Regions from separate parts of the Homo sapiens genome. Here regions 1, 2 and 3 are each linked to region 4. The links are contacts of gene promoters, found by promoter capture Hi-C in blood cells and fetal thymus (Javierre and others, 2016). All regions are on one chromosome and are shown on one strand. Each heading gives the region's core, a stretch centred on a gene start or on the middle of the fragment in contact. The rest is flanking DNA. Distances are from core to core; before and after follow the strand shown.

Region 1 (3,076 bases), core at 130-2,629, 210 kb after region 4:
ACAACACAGGCGTACTTTGTCTAACGTGCTTCCCTTCATTGTGCTTCGCAGGTAATGTGCTTTCTACAAATTAAAGGCTGGTAGCAACCTTGCGTCAAGCACGTCGAGGGGTGCCATTTTTCCAACAGCATGTGCTTACTTCGTGTCTCTGTGTTGCATTCTGGTAATTCTCACAATATTTCAAACTCTTTCATTATTATTTTATCTGTTATGGTGACCTGTTATCGGTGATGTTTGATGTTACTATTTTAATTGTTTTGGGAAACTACAAACCGTGCCCATATAGGATAGCAAACTTAATAAACGCTGCGTAAGTTCTGACCGGCCATTTCCCTGAGTCTCTCCCCCTCTCCTCAGGGCTCCCTACTCCCTGAGACACAACAGTAATAACGTAATAACGTTAGGTCAATTAATCCTGTAGGAAAGGAAGAGTCACATGTCTCTCATTTCGATCAAAAGCTAGAAATGCTTAAGCTTAGTGAAGAAGGCATGTCAAAAGCCGACAGGCCAAAAGCTAGCCCTCCTGCACCAGTTTGCCAAGTTGTGAATGCCAAAGAAAGGTTCTTGAGGGAAATTAAAACTGCTACTCCAGTGAAGACATAAATAATAATAAAGCAAAGCAGCTTTATTGCTGACACGGAGAAGGCTGCTTTCTGTTTGGAGGCAGGTCTTACTCTGTTGCCCAGGCTGGAATGTAGTGGCACCATCACAGCTCACTGCAGCTCTGACGTCCCAGATTCAAGCCATCCTCCTACCTCAGCCTCCCCAGTAGCTGGGACTATAGGCATGCACCACCACATTCAGCTAAACTTTTATTTTGTAGCGATGAGGTTTCACTGTATTACTCAGGTTGGTCTCAAACTCCCGAGCTCAAGCGATCCTCCCCACTCAGCCTCCCAAAGTGCTGGGATTAGAGGTGTGCGCAACCGTGCCTAGCCTGCAGAAAGTTACGTTGTTGTTGTTTTGTGTGTTTTTTTTTTTTGTTTTTGTTTTTGTTTTGAGACAGAGTCTCGCTCTGTCACCAGGCTGGAGTGCAGTGGCGTGATCTTGGCTCACTGCAACTTCCACCTCCTTGGTTCAAGCAATTCTTGTGCTTCAGCCTCCCGAGTAGCTGGGACTACAGGCACGCACCACCATACCCAGCAAATTTTTGTATTTTTAGTAGAGATGGGGTTTCACCATGTTGGCCAGGATGGTCTCCTCCTGACCTCGTGATCCACCTGCCTCAGCCTCACAAAGTGCTGGGATTACAGGGGTCAGACACCGCACCCAATGCCTGCAGAAAGTTTTAATGGTTTGGAGAGAAGACGAAACCAGACTTAAATAGTCTACAGTAAGGCCCTCACTCTTTTCAGTTCTACAAAGGATGACAGAGATGACGAAGCTGCAGAAGAAAAACTGGAAGCTAGCGGAGGTTGTTTCATGAGGTTTAAGAAGCCACCTCCATAACATACTAAAGTGCAAGGTGAAACAGCAAATGCCGGCCGGGCGCGATGGCTCTTGCCTGTAATCCCAGCACTTTGGGAGGCCGAGGCGGAAGGATCACTTGAGGTCAGGAGTTCAAGACCAGCCTGGCCAACATGGTGAAACCCCGTCTCTACTAAAAAATACAAAAATTAGCTGGGTGTGGCCGGGTGCGGTGGCTCACGCCTGTAATCCCAGCACTTTGGGAGGCCGAGGCAGGCGGATCATGAGGTCAGGAGATGGAGACCATCCTGGCTAACACGATGAAACCCCGTCTCTACTAAAAAATACAAAAAAATTAGCTGGGCATGGTGGTGTGCACCTGTAGTCCCAGCTGCTGGGGAGGCTGAGGCAGGAGAATGGCATGAACCTGGGAGGCAGAGCTTGCAGTGAGCCGAGATCGCGCCACTGCACTCCAGACTGGGTGACAGAGCAAGACTCCGTTTCAAAAAAAAAAATTAGCTGGGTATGGCGGCGGCTACCTGTAATCCCAGCTACTCAAGAGGCTGAGGCAGGAGAATCACTTGAACACGGGAACCAGAGGTTGCGGTGAGCTGAGATGGCACCACTGCACTCCAGCCTGGGTGACAGAGGGAGACTCCATTTCAAAACAAAAAACAAAAAACAAAAACAAAACAGCAAATGCTGATATAGAAGTTGTCGCTAGATCTGGAAGATCCAGCTAGGACAATTGATGAAGGAGGCTATGGCAAACAACAGATTTTTCAATACAGATGAAACAGTCTTCTATTGGAAGAAGGTGCCATCTAGGATTTTCATAGCTAGACAGGGTAAGTCAACGCCTGGCTTCAAAGCTTGAGTGCACAGGCTGACTCGCTAATGCAGCTGGTGACTTTTAAATTGAATGCTCATTTATCATTCTGAAAATCCTAGGACCCTTAAGAATTATGCTAAATCAGGCCGAGCGCGGTGGCTCACTCCTGTAATCCCAGCACTTTGGGAGGCCAAGGCGGGCGGATCACTTGAGGTCAGGAGTTTGAGACCAGCCTGGCCAACATGGTGAAACACCATCTCTACTAAAAATACAAAATTAGCTGGGCGCAATGGCACATGCCTGTAATCCCAGCCACTAGGGAGGCTGAGGCAGGAGAATCACTTGAACCTGGGAGGCTTAGGTTGCGGTGAGCCAAGATTGCGCCATTGCACTCCAGCCTGGGCAACAAGAGTGAAACTCTGTCTCAAAAAAAAAAAAAAAAAAAAAAAAAAAAAAACACTGTTGAGACCTACTGCTCAGAAAAAAAAGATTCCTTTCAAAATATTACTGCTCATTGACCATGCATCTAGTCACCCAAGAGCTCTGATTAAGATGTACAAGGAGACTAATGTTGTCATGCCTGCTAACATACTCCATACTGCAGCCCATGGATCAAGGAGTAATTTTTTTTTTTTTTTTGAGACGGAGTCTTGCTCTGTCGCCCAGGCTGGAGTGCAGTGGGGCAATCTCGGCTCACTGCAAGTTGCGCCTCCTGGGTTCATGCCATTCTCTTGCCTCAGCCTCCCAAGTAGCTGAGACTACAGGCGCCCACCACCACACCCGGCTAATTTTTTGAATTTTTAGTAGAGACGGGGTTTCACCGTGTTAGCCAGGATG
Region 2 (3,187 bases), core at 615-3,114, 150 kb before region 4:
CCCAGACTTGGCCCAGGATCGGCCTTGTGTGAACACAAATTGGCAGGGTCCTGAGGCAGGTGAGGAATCCGAGTTTGGGCAGCTGTGTGATCTTGGGCAGGTCATTTACCCTCCTTGCTTCAGTTTTCTCATCTGTAAAATGGAGGTACTAGTGGTCTCAACCTCAATATGGTTATTCTAAGTATTAAATGCTCAGTGTCCAGCCCGTAGTAAGTGCTGAGAGGTTTACTCCTATGTGTAACAGATGGGAGGTGTGCTGGGGTTTGTATGGACAACGGACGGTCAAGTGGGCAGGTGTGTGGGTGGACAGATGCACAGGTGGGCAGGGGACGGGAGAGTGGATGTCTGGAGGGATGCACAGTGGGCAGGGCTTGTTACATGTCCCCATCTGGGTCAGGAAAGGAGACGGTGAGTGTGGAGTGTGATGGTGGCTGGGGAGTGGTGAGGCACAGAGGGGAAGGAGGCTGAAGACACAGCCTTGAAAAGGTCCCATATTTGGGAGGCTGGGGCGGCAGGGTTGAAATAGGTGCCATCTGAGAAAGGAGGGGAAAACCAGTAAGTGTTGTCCTAAAGCTTTGGGGAGGAGCGTTTCACGGAAGAAGGAGCAAAGAAACCAAATGCCAGCTGAGGTCAGCAGGAGTGCTGGCCATGCATCCATGGGGAGGAAGGCCCTGGAGGCCGCCGGTGACCCTGGTGGGAGCAGTTTCAATTTGGGTATGGAGAGAGGAAGTCTGCCGCAGGCTGAGGAGCCGGTGGGGGACGGGAGACAAGATGGACAGTAGAGGTGACTTTTTGGGGAAAACTGGCTGTGAAGGGGGGAGACAGCAATACATGGAGAAGTAGGGGAGAGGCAAGTTCAGGGGGTTTGAGGGTCAGAAACTTCACATGCACTTGGGCTGCAAGGGAGCAACCGCGATGGAGGCAGCTGAGCTGGGGACAGGGATGAGGCTGCCCATGGGAAGGATGAGAGGTGATGGGGAGGTGGGGGTGCCCAGTGGACAGGGAGTGGCAGCTGGGGACAGGGATGAGGCTGCCCATGGGAGGGATGAGAGGTGATGGGGAGGTGGGGGTGCCCAGTGGACAGGGAGTGGCAGCTGGGGACAGGGATGAGACTGCCCATGGGAGGGATGAGGCGATGGGGGGCGGTGCCCACTGGACAGGGAGTGTCGGCTGCCGGGGGAAAGCTCTGGGTTGGGGAAGGCCTAATCCCCACATGTCCATCAACGTATGAGATCCTTTAGCTGGGGCCAGGAAGAGACAGGACTGAGAGGGAAACTGGAAACCCCAGTTATGGGCAGAGAGAGGCAGTGTCCTTCAAACCCAAGTCCACCCTGCCGGCCCCAGCCCCGTTCCTCCCCACCCCATGCAGCCCCACAGCGCAGCCATACCTACAGACTTGGTCCGTGGAATCCCCTTCCGCAAGGAGCCCGGCAGCTTCTCTGGGCCTGGGAGGCCCTGGCGTTCAAACAATGACTGTGGGGGTCAGGGAGGGGAATATGGAGGTTCCAGGGCACTGGGGGCCCCCAGTCCTCCTCCTAAGCCAGAGGTGAGACACCCCACGCTCTCACTCCAATGGCACTAGTGCCTGTGGGTGCCTGGACCCAGGAATCACGTCTGGACTCTGCCCTCAGGGAGCAGAGGATGCAGCCCATTGGAGCCTGGGCTGTGTGGGCAGTGCAGATGGTGGTACAGTGTAGACGGTGTTGGGCAGGGTGGGTGCAGACCCTGGCCGACCCTGGGTGAGGGTGGGGGAGGAGCCTAGAAGGCGCCGGGTTGGCAAGTGGGCAGGGAACAGAGACATGCTTTGTCGTGTTCTCAGCGGAGCTGGGGTACCTTGGTGGTCTCAGGCGTGAGACAGGGACTGCCTGAAGGCAGAGGCACCAAAAGCTACAAGAGCAAACCCAGCAGGTGCTGAGCTGTGGCCATTTAGGGGGCAGAGACAGCCCCAAGAGTCTCTGAGAGAGGCCATGGGGTGCACACACCCCTCTGGAGAGGGGTCCACATGATAGGCTCTCACCTCCGTCAAGAGGGCCCAGGACAGTCTGACCCCCATGCCTGCCCGACCCAGCGCTCCCAGCCGCCCGTGGCCCTTACGCTAATCTCGGCGGGTGTGATCCTCCGACTGGTGGGCCTCTGTTTGACGGTGGCGGCTCTGGAGTCTGCGTCTGCGATGTCTGGCCGCAGCGTTGGCTCTGCGGCGGCTGCCAGCATCTCGTCCAGCTTCTCTGCACAGCAAGGAGGCTCCATCTCAGCTGCCTGGGCCACCTCCTGCCCCACTGCCATGTCCTCCCCAACCCGGCCACCCGTGATGCTGACAGAGGCCACCGCTCCCCTCCCTCCTTGAGCTCCCACCCCAGGCTCCCAAGACAAGGCCCTCACCCCAGAACTCAGACCCCACCCCAGGCAGCCTCTCTAGCCTCAAGGAGACTCCAGGTGACCCTGTGGACCTCACTTAAGGAAAGGCCACTCTGACCATGAGGGAGAAGACCAGGGCACAGGACAGACAAACGATTCAGAGACCACAGTCTCCCTGGATTTCCCTCCATTTCCCTTCGTCCTGTCACTGTTCTCAGCACATACAGGCCACTCTTGGCTATCTGTACCGCACTGGAAGGGAAGCTGTTCACAGCGGGTCACAGCCCGAGGACAGACCCTGATGTACAAGCAGGTTTCCACAGAAGATCAAAGTGACTTGGAAACTGTTAAACTAATACGTGTATCTCAGGACCATCAGAGCCCTGGTTGGATGGCTCCCCCAGGACATAAGCAGCTCTCGCCCCCTGTGGGTCCACTGAGGACCAGTGCGTGCAGCATGCAGCAAGGGCTGGGGCAGCACTCATGTCCACCTGGCTGCTGCACCGGCCCTCTCATTCAGCAGCCCCACTGCACCCCACCCATCACTCAGGCTGCACCCAACCCCAAGCCCTTCTCCACTCTTTGGGGCTATGCCAACCCTAGAGGGACCACTGTCTGGCCACACTTGTCTTGGCACCTTTCACTCTTGTCTTGGCCCCTTGTTGGAGAATTTCAACGGTCAGACTGGACACCTCCTACTCCTTCCAACTCCAATCTGCAGCTGTTCACAGCACCTGCTGATTCTACCTCTGCAATCTGCTTAGCATTGCTGGAAGGAAGGAAGGAACTCCCCAAGCTTAGCATTGCTGGAAGGAAGGAACTCCCCAAGACT
Region 3 (2,822 bases), core at 166-2,665, 170 kb before region 4:
TTAAAGAAAATATTATTCGGGTGTTTTTAATGGATAGCACCTATTTCTTTACAAATATTTAGGAGGTATCAATAAAAAAGTCTGAAGACCCAATGTCAGTGTCTGGATTCTAGAAGACCATTACAGTTTGACTCCGCAAAGCTTACCCACTTCTGATTCTAGAAGGGGCTGCCAGTCATCGTGCCTGCCCGTGGCTATAGTGATGGTTGCGGGAAAAGTACCTGGCCCGGCCCATTTAATTTTGTCATTAAACTAATGGAAGCAACAAACATCTCAACTCAGAGTGACTTTGTCTGACCTTCTTCATGCTGTTCTAAGAGCGAAGGAGAAATGGGTGACAGGTCTGGGGCCAGAGGGTGGGGTCCCATCCGAGGGCATGGCTCAGGCTGAGGCAGAGTGCTCAGCACAGGGGGCAGGATGGGGGCTCCCCATCTCCCCTCAAACTCCTCCCTGCTCTCTGCTTCCACCCTGACCCCCAGGCACCCCTCCAGCTCATCCCAGCCATTCTCGCTGCTCCTGCTCACCCCAACCACCCGCTGCCTTCGCCAGCCGTGCCCACTTCTGTCCCCATGCCTTATTTACCTGGGCAATCCAACTCCCACCCCAGTTTTTCTCACCCTGATCTCCAATCCCTTCCAGCCCCCAATCCCCTACTTTTCCATTCCTGTCCCCACCACCCTCCGTGAGGAGCAGAAACCTTATCCAACCATCCTCAATGTCCAGCCAGCCAGGAAGGCAAGAAGATCCCAGAGGGAGTAAGAATGGTTGACGCAGTGAAACCTTGAGGGCCGAAAAGGGGTAGGTTTCAGGTCTTCACCCAGGGGAAGCAGGTGCCTCGGGGGTGGTTTAAGCAAGCAGGTGAGGGTCTGGGTGGCGCCATGGAGAAGGACGAAGGCCCTTTGAGGCTATGGTTGATGACAGCTTGAAAACCAGCCTCAGGCTGGGCAAGGTGGCCCACACCTGTCATCGAAGCACTTTGAAAGGCTAAGGAGGGTGGAGTTCTAGACCAGCCTGGGCAGCAAAATGAGGCCCCCATCTCATAAAAAATAAAAAAAAAATTAGTCAGGTGTGATGGCCCACGCTTGCAGTCCCAGCTACTTGGGAGGCTGAGGCAGGAGGATCGCTCAATTCCAGGAGGTTGAGGCTACAGTGAGCCACGATCATGCCCCTGCACTCCAGCCTGGGTGACAGGGTGAGACCTTGTCTCAAAACAAAACAAAAGCAGCCTCCATGTCCTGGCCCTGCCCCAAAGTTGTCCACAGGTCTTGGGAGTGGCTGGGGGGTGCCAGCCCACAGGAAGAGCAGAGGCCACACAATTTCAAATTTTCAACATTTCCTAATCCTCATCTTATTTTCAGATTAGAAACTGAGGCCATCATAAGGAAAGGGCTGCACGGGAAGTCAAGGAGGGGGGCCCTGCAAGGGTCTGAGTGTGGGAGCAGGGGGCCCCTGACTCGCTCTGGGCCTGAGTGTGTGGAATCGGGAGGGTGGGTCTCCCTGGGCTGCACATGGAGCCCTAGGCCTCCATGGGGACTCAGAGTCTGGGGCTAGTGGCACTTCTCCACGGTGCCACCGGCCCCACCCCTGGCTAAGGTTAACCACAGAGCCAAGGTATGCGATTGTCATTCTGTCATATTCACGCGCCTCCTCAACCCAGTGTGTCCAGGCTCTGAAACCACTGCCCCTCCTGTAAGCAACCCTCCCCACCGGGGACGTCACATCTCTGCAGCCCCTGGCCTCAGTGCTGGGTCCTGTGCCCTCTACTTTCTCACGGCTCCCTCTTGATTGCCTTTGCCCACTTGCCTTACTGTTTGCCCTTCAAGACATAGCTCACCACCTCCTTCCACTCAGCGAGGGGTCTCTGTCCCTCCTGTTGGCTGGCCACCCCCACCAGGTGCCACCCAGGACGTGTCTTTTTTGCCACATTATCGGCTGCTCACATGACTGCCTGTGCGCTCCTGAAGGACAATGTCTTGTCTCTGGTGCTCAGGGTGGGAGCAAAAAGGAAACCTCACATCCAACTGGGCAGACAACCCAAGGTGAGAAGCACCAACTTGCTCTAATTTGAGATAGCACCAGGGCCGTGCAGACGCAGAGCCTAACATCTAACTGGGACTCCAGGGAGGGCGGGTCAGAGAAAACGTCCTGGAAGACAGGATCCGGAGATCAGCCTCCAAGCTATGTATGCTTGATGCAGGCAAACGATGGGTGATCCAGGCAGAAGGAAGAGGGCATGTGTGAGACAGAGCCCTGAAGCGTCATAGCGGCTCAGGGATTGCAGGAGGTGGGGGGAGACTGGCGAGCAGCATGTGTGCATGGGGAGGGAGCAGGGGATGCTGGCAGGGCCACGGCAGCACTGGCTGGGCCGGACTGGCTCACGGGGTCCATCCATCAGCTGCATTTACAGACAGGCTGGTGTTTGTCAGCAGAGGGCAGAAATGGAAACAGAAAACCAGTGAATCAGCAGGGAAGGAGTGAGGGCTAAATCTGGTCTGCAGCCGTGGGGTAGGACAGTTGCGAGAGATGCGAGCGGGTTCCAAGACAGGAGCAGCAGAATTTAAAAGCAACCGGACGCTGGCGGGAGCAAGTCTTAAACCCTAGGCTTAAAACCTGGCAGGGGTCATGGAGGACAAGTGGCCTCCAGCTTAGGAGGTGCTACTCAGTGGGTTGGTGAACAGAGAAAAGCTTTCGGTGCAGAAGGCATGGGCTGAGTTCCAGCAGACTCGGAGAAGATGCTGGAAGATGCCAGGTGCCTAGGCATGGAGGTCAAAGATAGGGATCTAGGAGTCACCCGTGCATGTGGTCCAGGCTGAGGAGGTTTG
Region 4 (3,144 bases), core at 497-2,996:
CAAGAGCCTGCACATTCCAGCTCAACTGATCTTTCCCGAGTCTTCTCTGTCCCTTACCAAGAACCCTGAGCCCAGAACACACTCGCCATTCCCCAAAGGAGGCAGGCTGAGCCACACCTTCGCCTTTGCCCTAGATGGGCCTTCTGCCTGGAATCCTGTGCCCTTTCTCCTACTCTCTCGGAAGCTGTCTTCCTTAGCCATCAGAATTATTCCTGATTCGGGCCAAGCACAGTGGCTCACACCTGTAATCCCAGCACTTTGGGAGTCCGAGGCGGGTGGATCACCTGAGGACAGGAGTTCGAGACCAGCCTGGCCAACATAGCGAAACCCGGTCTCTACTAAAAATACAAAAACTAGCTGGGCGTTGTGGCATGTGCTTGTAATCCCAGCTACTAGGGAGGCTGAGGCAGGAGAATCACTTGAACCTGGGAGGCGGAGGTTGCAGTGAGCCGAGATCGTGCCACTGCACTCCAGCCTGGGCAACAGAGCAAGACTCCGTCTCAAAAAAAAAAAAAAAGAATTATTCCCTATTCATGTTTCTCTGGGCTGCTGTAACAGAAATCGGCTCTGGGCTGTATAAGCAAATGGAAGTATGAAGAGCAGCTCACAGGTGGAAAGGGATGGCCAGAAAACCGGGTTCAACCGGGGCAGGAACCTGGCAGCTGGCGGAGGGAGTGTGGCCCAGGCAGCAGCCTCCTCAATAAACAAGCGAATGCTCACTCCTTGCCCAGAACTGTCTGGCTCAACCCCAGCCATTTTTCCTCCTCTGCAATCAGGCTGCTAAGAATCAGAATCCCTGAGAGAAAATTCAGGGGGTCTAAGGTTTGTCAGGATTCTCAAACACAAGGTGTTCAAAATCAAAGTTAACCTTCCAAGCTAGCTTCTCCCACTCTTCCACATCTCTGCCAGTGGTATCACCCCGGCCATTAGCCCCTTGCTTCTTTCTCCCTCCCTCCCACATTACCAAGCCCTGTCAAGTCGACCTTGGAATGGCTTTGACCCTGTCCACCACTCAGCCAAACAACAGCAACGGCCGGCCCCGTCGCCACCCGCCTCGGCAGCCAGAGACCTTTTAACTCTGCCACTCGCCTACTTACCACCCTTCTAGGGTGCCCACGTCCCTCTGAAAAAAAAGGCTGAGCTCAGACTGGCCTCTGGTCAGCCTCCTCCCAGCCAGAGCTTTCTGTCACTGCCCTTCTAGGTGTTGAGTGGCTCTGCTTCCAGTTCTTGCCTGGAGACCAGGAGCGCCCGGGAGGCCCCAGCACTTTCCAGCCCACATAGACCTGCGTGCACCTCTGCCTCGTCTCCCTGAGCCCGGGCTGCCTCCTCTGTAAGATACATGCCACATAATGTCCGCCACACATGATCGCTGTGACAGTGGAAATAGCTGGGCGTTCAGCGACTCATTCGACAAATGTTTACCAGCACCTTTGGTACCGGGCGCTGTCCTGGACACTGGGGACACAGCAGGCAAACGGGGCCCTGCGTATAAATCCTTAAGCTCAAGAAGGAGGTGGGGGCAAAACTGTCAGGCCGGGAAGCTCTTCATCTCCGCAGGATTCTCCCTCAACCTCAGGACGTCCCCAGCACCGCACCTGCCAGTCCCAGACTCGGACGCCGCAGACCTGTGGGAGCAGCGCGGAATGCCCCGCCCCTTTTCCCGAGGACACCCAATGAGGGCGAGAGGTCACTTCCGGGGAGGGTTCGCTAACGGAAAGGGCGGGGCATCCCTCTCGAGGAGCGGCCTTGTTCCTCAAGCGGCCGCTGGGGGCGCCAGAGCAGGACCGGAGCGCGGGCCAAGCTGGAGGTGAGCGAGGCCGCGCCCCCCTGGGCCCCGGCCCTCCCAACGCGCCCTGACGGCTGGGCTCCGCCTGACCCTGTCCTAGCGTTCGCGGTGGCACCAACCTCAAGCCAGACCCTTGACTTCGACCCAACTCCACTCACCCGACTCCACTCACTCCACACCCCATGCCCCTCCCCCGACGCCCCTCACCCCGCCTCACCCTTCACCCCTCATCGCTCACGTCACCGCTCACCCGCCTCCTCACCCAGCCTCGCCCCTCACCCCTCACCCCGCCTCACCCCTCACCCCGCCTCACCCCTCACCCCTCATCCCGCCTCACCCCTCACCCCTCATCCCGCCTCACCCCTCACCCCTCCTCACCCCGCCTCACCCGCCTCGCCCCTCACCCCTCACCCCTCCTCACCCCGCCTCACCCCTCACCCCTCACCCCGCCTCACCCCTCACCCCGCCTCACCCCTCACCCCGCCTCACCCTTCACCCCTCACCCCGCCTCACCCTTCACCCCTCACCCCGCCTCACCCCTCACCCCTCACCCCGCCTCACCCTTCACCCCTCACCCCGCCTCACCCTTCACCCCTCACCCCGCCTCACCCCTCCTTACCCCGCCTCACCCGCCTCGCCCCTCACCCCTCATCGCTCACGTCACCGTTCACCCGCCTCCTCACCCAGCCTCACCCCTCACCCCGCCTCACCCCTCACCCCGCCTCACCCCTCACCCCTCCTCACCCCGCCTCACCCCGCCTCACCCCTCCCCCGCTCCCCTCACTGCACACTCCATACCCCACTCTCCCCACCTTACATCCCTCACCTCAGTCCTTCACCCCCTTAACCTAATCTCCATGTCCTCACACCATACACTCCTGATCCTGAAGTCTGCACACCCTGGGCTTCTCATTCCGTGCAGCCTGCCCCTCTTACCCTCACACCTGCCACACCTGGGACCCCGGAGTCCACACACCACCTCACACCCCAAGTTCCCACACGCACCTCTGGCTTCCTCCACCTGCACTTCAGGACCCGCCCAGACTCTTCATAGCCCAACTCCAAGACTTCTCTCCCACATCACAGGTGCATTCCCTTCCTGTGCTGCTCTCATCCCGTACAAAAGAGCACATCTCTGCACCAAGCATCCCTCTTATCCCCTCACATTCCTTGTTCTCAGAGGGATCCCAGACTCTGTTAGAAACTCTTCGTACCAGGCAAGACACTCAGACCACAAACCAGACTCTAGGCTCTGACTCGCTCAACCCCCGTCCTTCACACCTAAAGTGATACCCAAGCCAGACCCTACACTCCCGCCCCACGCTCCCGCCCCACACTCCTCCCGCCCCACGCTCCTC

What was found. The method cuts DNA at HindIII sites, captures the fragments that hold promoters and counts their contacts. A CHiCAGO score of 5 or more calls a contact.
Region 1: a fragment that was not itself captured here is called in contact with the fragment with the promoter of SYCE3 in region 4 in 1 of 17 cell types (naive B cells); the score reaches 5.1 in naive B cells.
Region 2: a contact is called between a fragment that was not itself captured here and the fragment with the promoter of SYCE3 in region 4, in 1 of 17 cell types (endothelial precursors). The highest score is 5.5, in endothelial precursors.
Region 3: a contact is called between a fragment that was not itself captured here and the fragment with the promoter of SYCE3 in region 4, in 1 of 17 cell types (endothelial precursors). The highest score is 5.4, in endothelial precursors.

The regions. Positions count from the first base shown.
Region 1 is chr22:50,350,647-50,353,722 of GRCh38, reverse strand. All of the region lies in intron 1 of PPP6R2 (protein phosphatase 6 regulatory subunit 2), which reads right to left. Among named protein-coding and RNA genes, the nearest start is that of PPP6R2, 8.9 kb to the right of the region's middle. The HindIII fragment of the contact is 1,805 bases long and covers 477-2,281 here.
Region 2 is chr22:50,713,955-50,717,141 of GRCh38, reverse strand. It overlaps SHANK3 (SH3 and multiple ankyrin repeat domains 3), which reads right to left. Exons shown (of 25, transcript NM_001372044.2): 22 at 2,095-2,225; 23 at 1,389-1,473. Among named protein-coding and RNA genes, the nearest start is that of ACR, 23 kb to the left of the region's middle. The HindIII fragment of the contact is 2,578 bases long and covers 576-3,153 here.
Region 3 is chr22:50,733,272-50,736,093 of GRCh38, reverse strand. LOC105373100 (a long non-coding RNA gene) reads left to right here. Exons shown (of 2, transcript NR_134637.1): 2 at 1-265. Among named protein-coding and RNA genes, the nearest start is that of ACR, 3.5 kb to the left of the region's middle. The HindIII fragment of the contact is 2,544 bases long and covers 144-2,687 here.
Region 4 is chr22:50,561,521-50,564,664 of GRCh38, reverse strand. SYCE3 (synaptonemal complex central element protein 3) reads left to right here and starts at 1,746. Exons shown (of 3, transcript NM_001123225.3): 1 at 1,746-1,807. It overlaps LOC107985568 (a long non-coding RNA gene), which reads right to left and starts at 1,704. Exons shown (of 2, transcript XR_001755606.3): 1 at 1,098-1,704. RefSeq lists silencers at 1,645-2,054, 3,125-3,144. The HindIII fragment of the contact is 5,765 bases long and covers 1-3,144 here.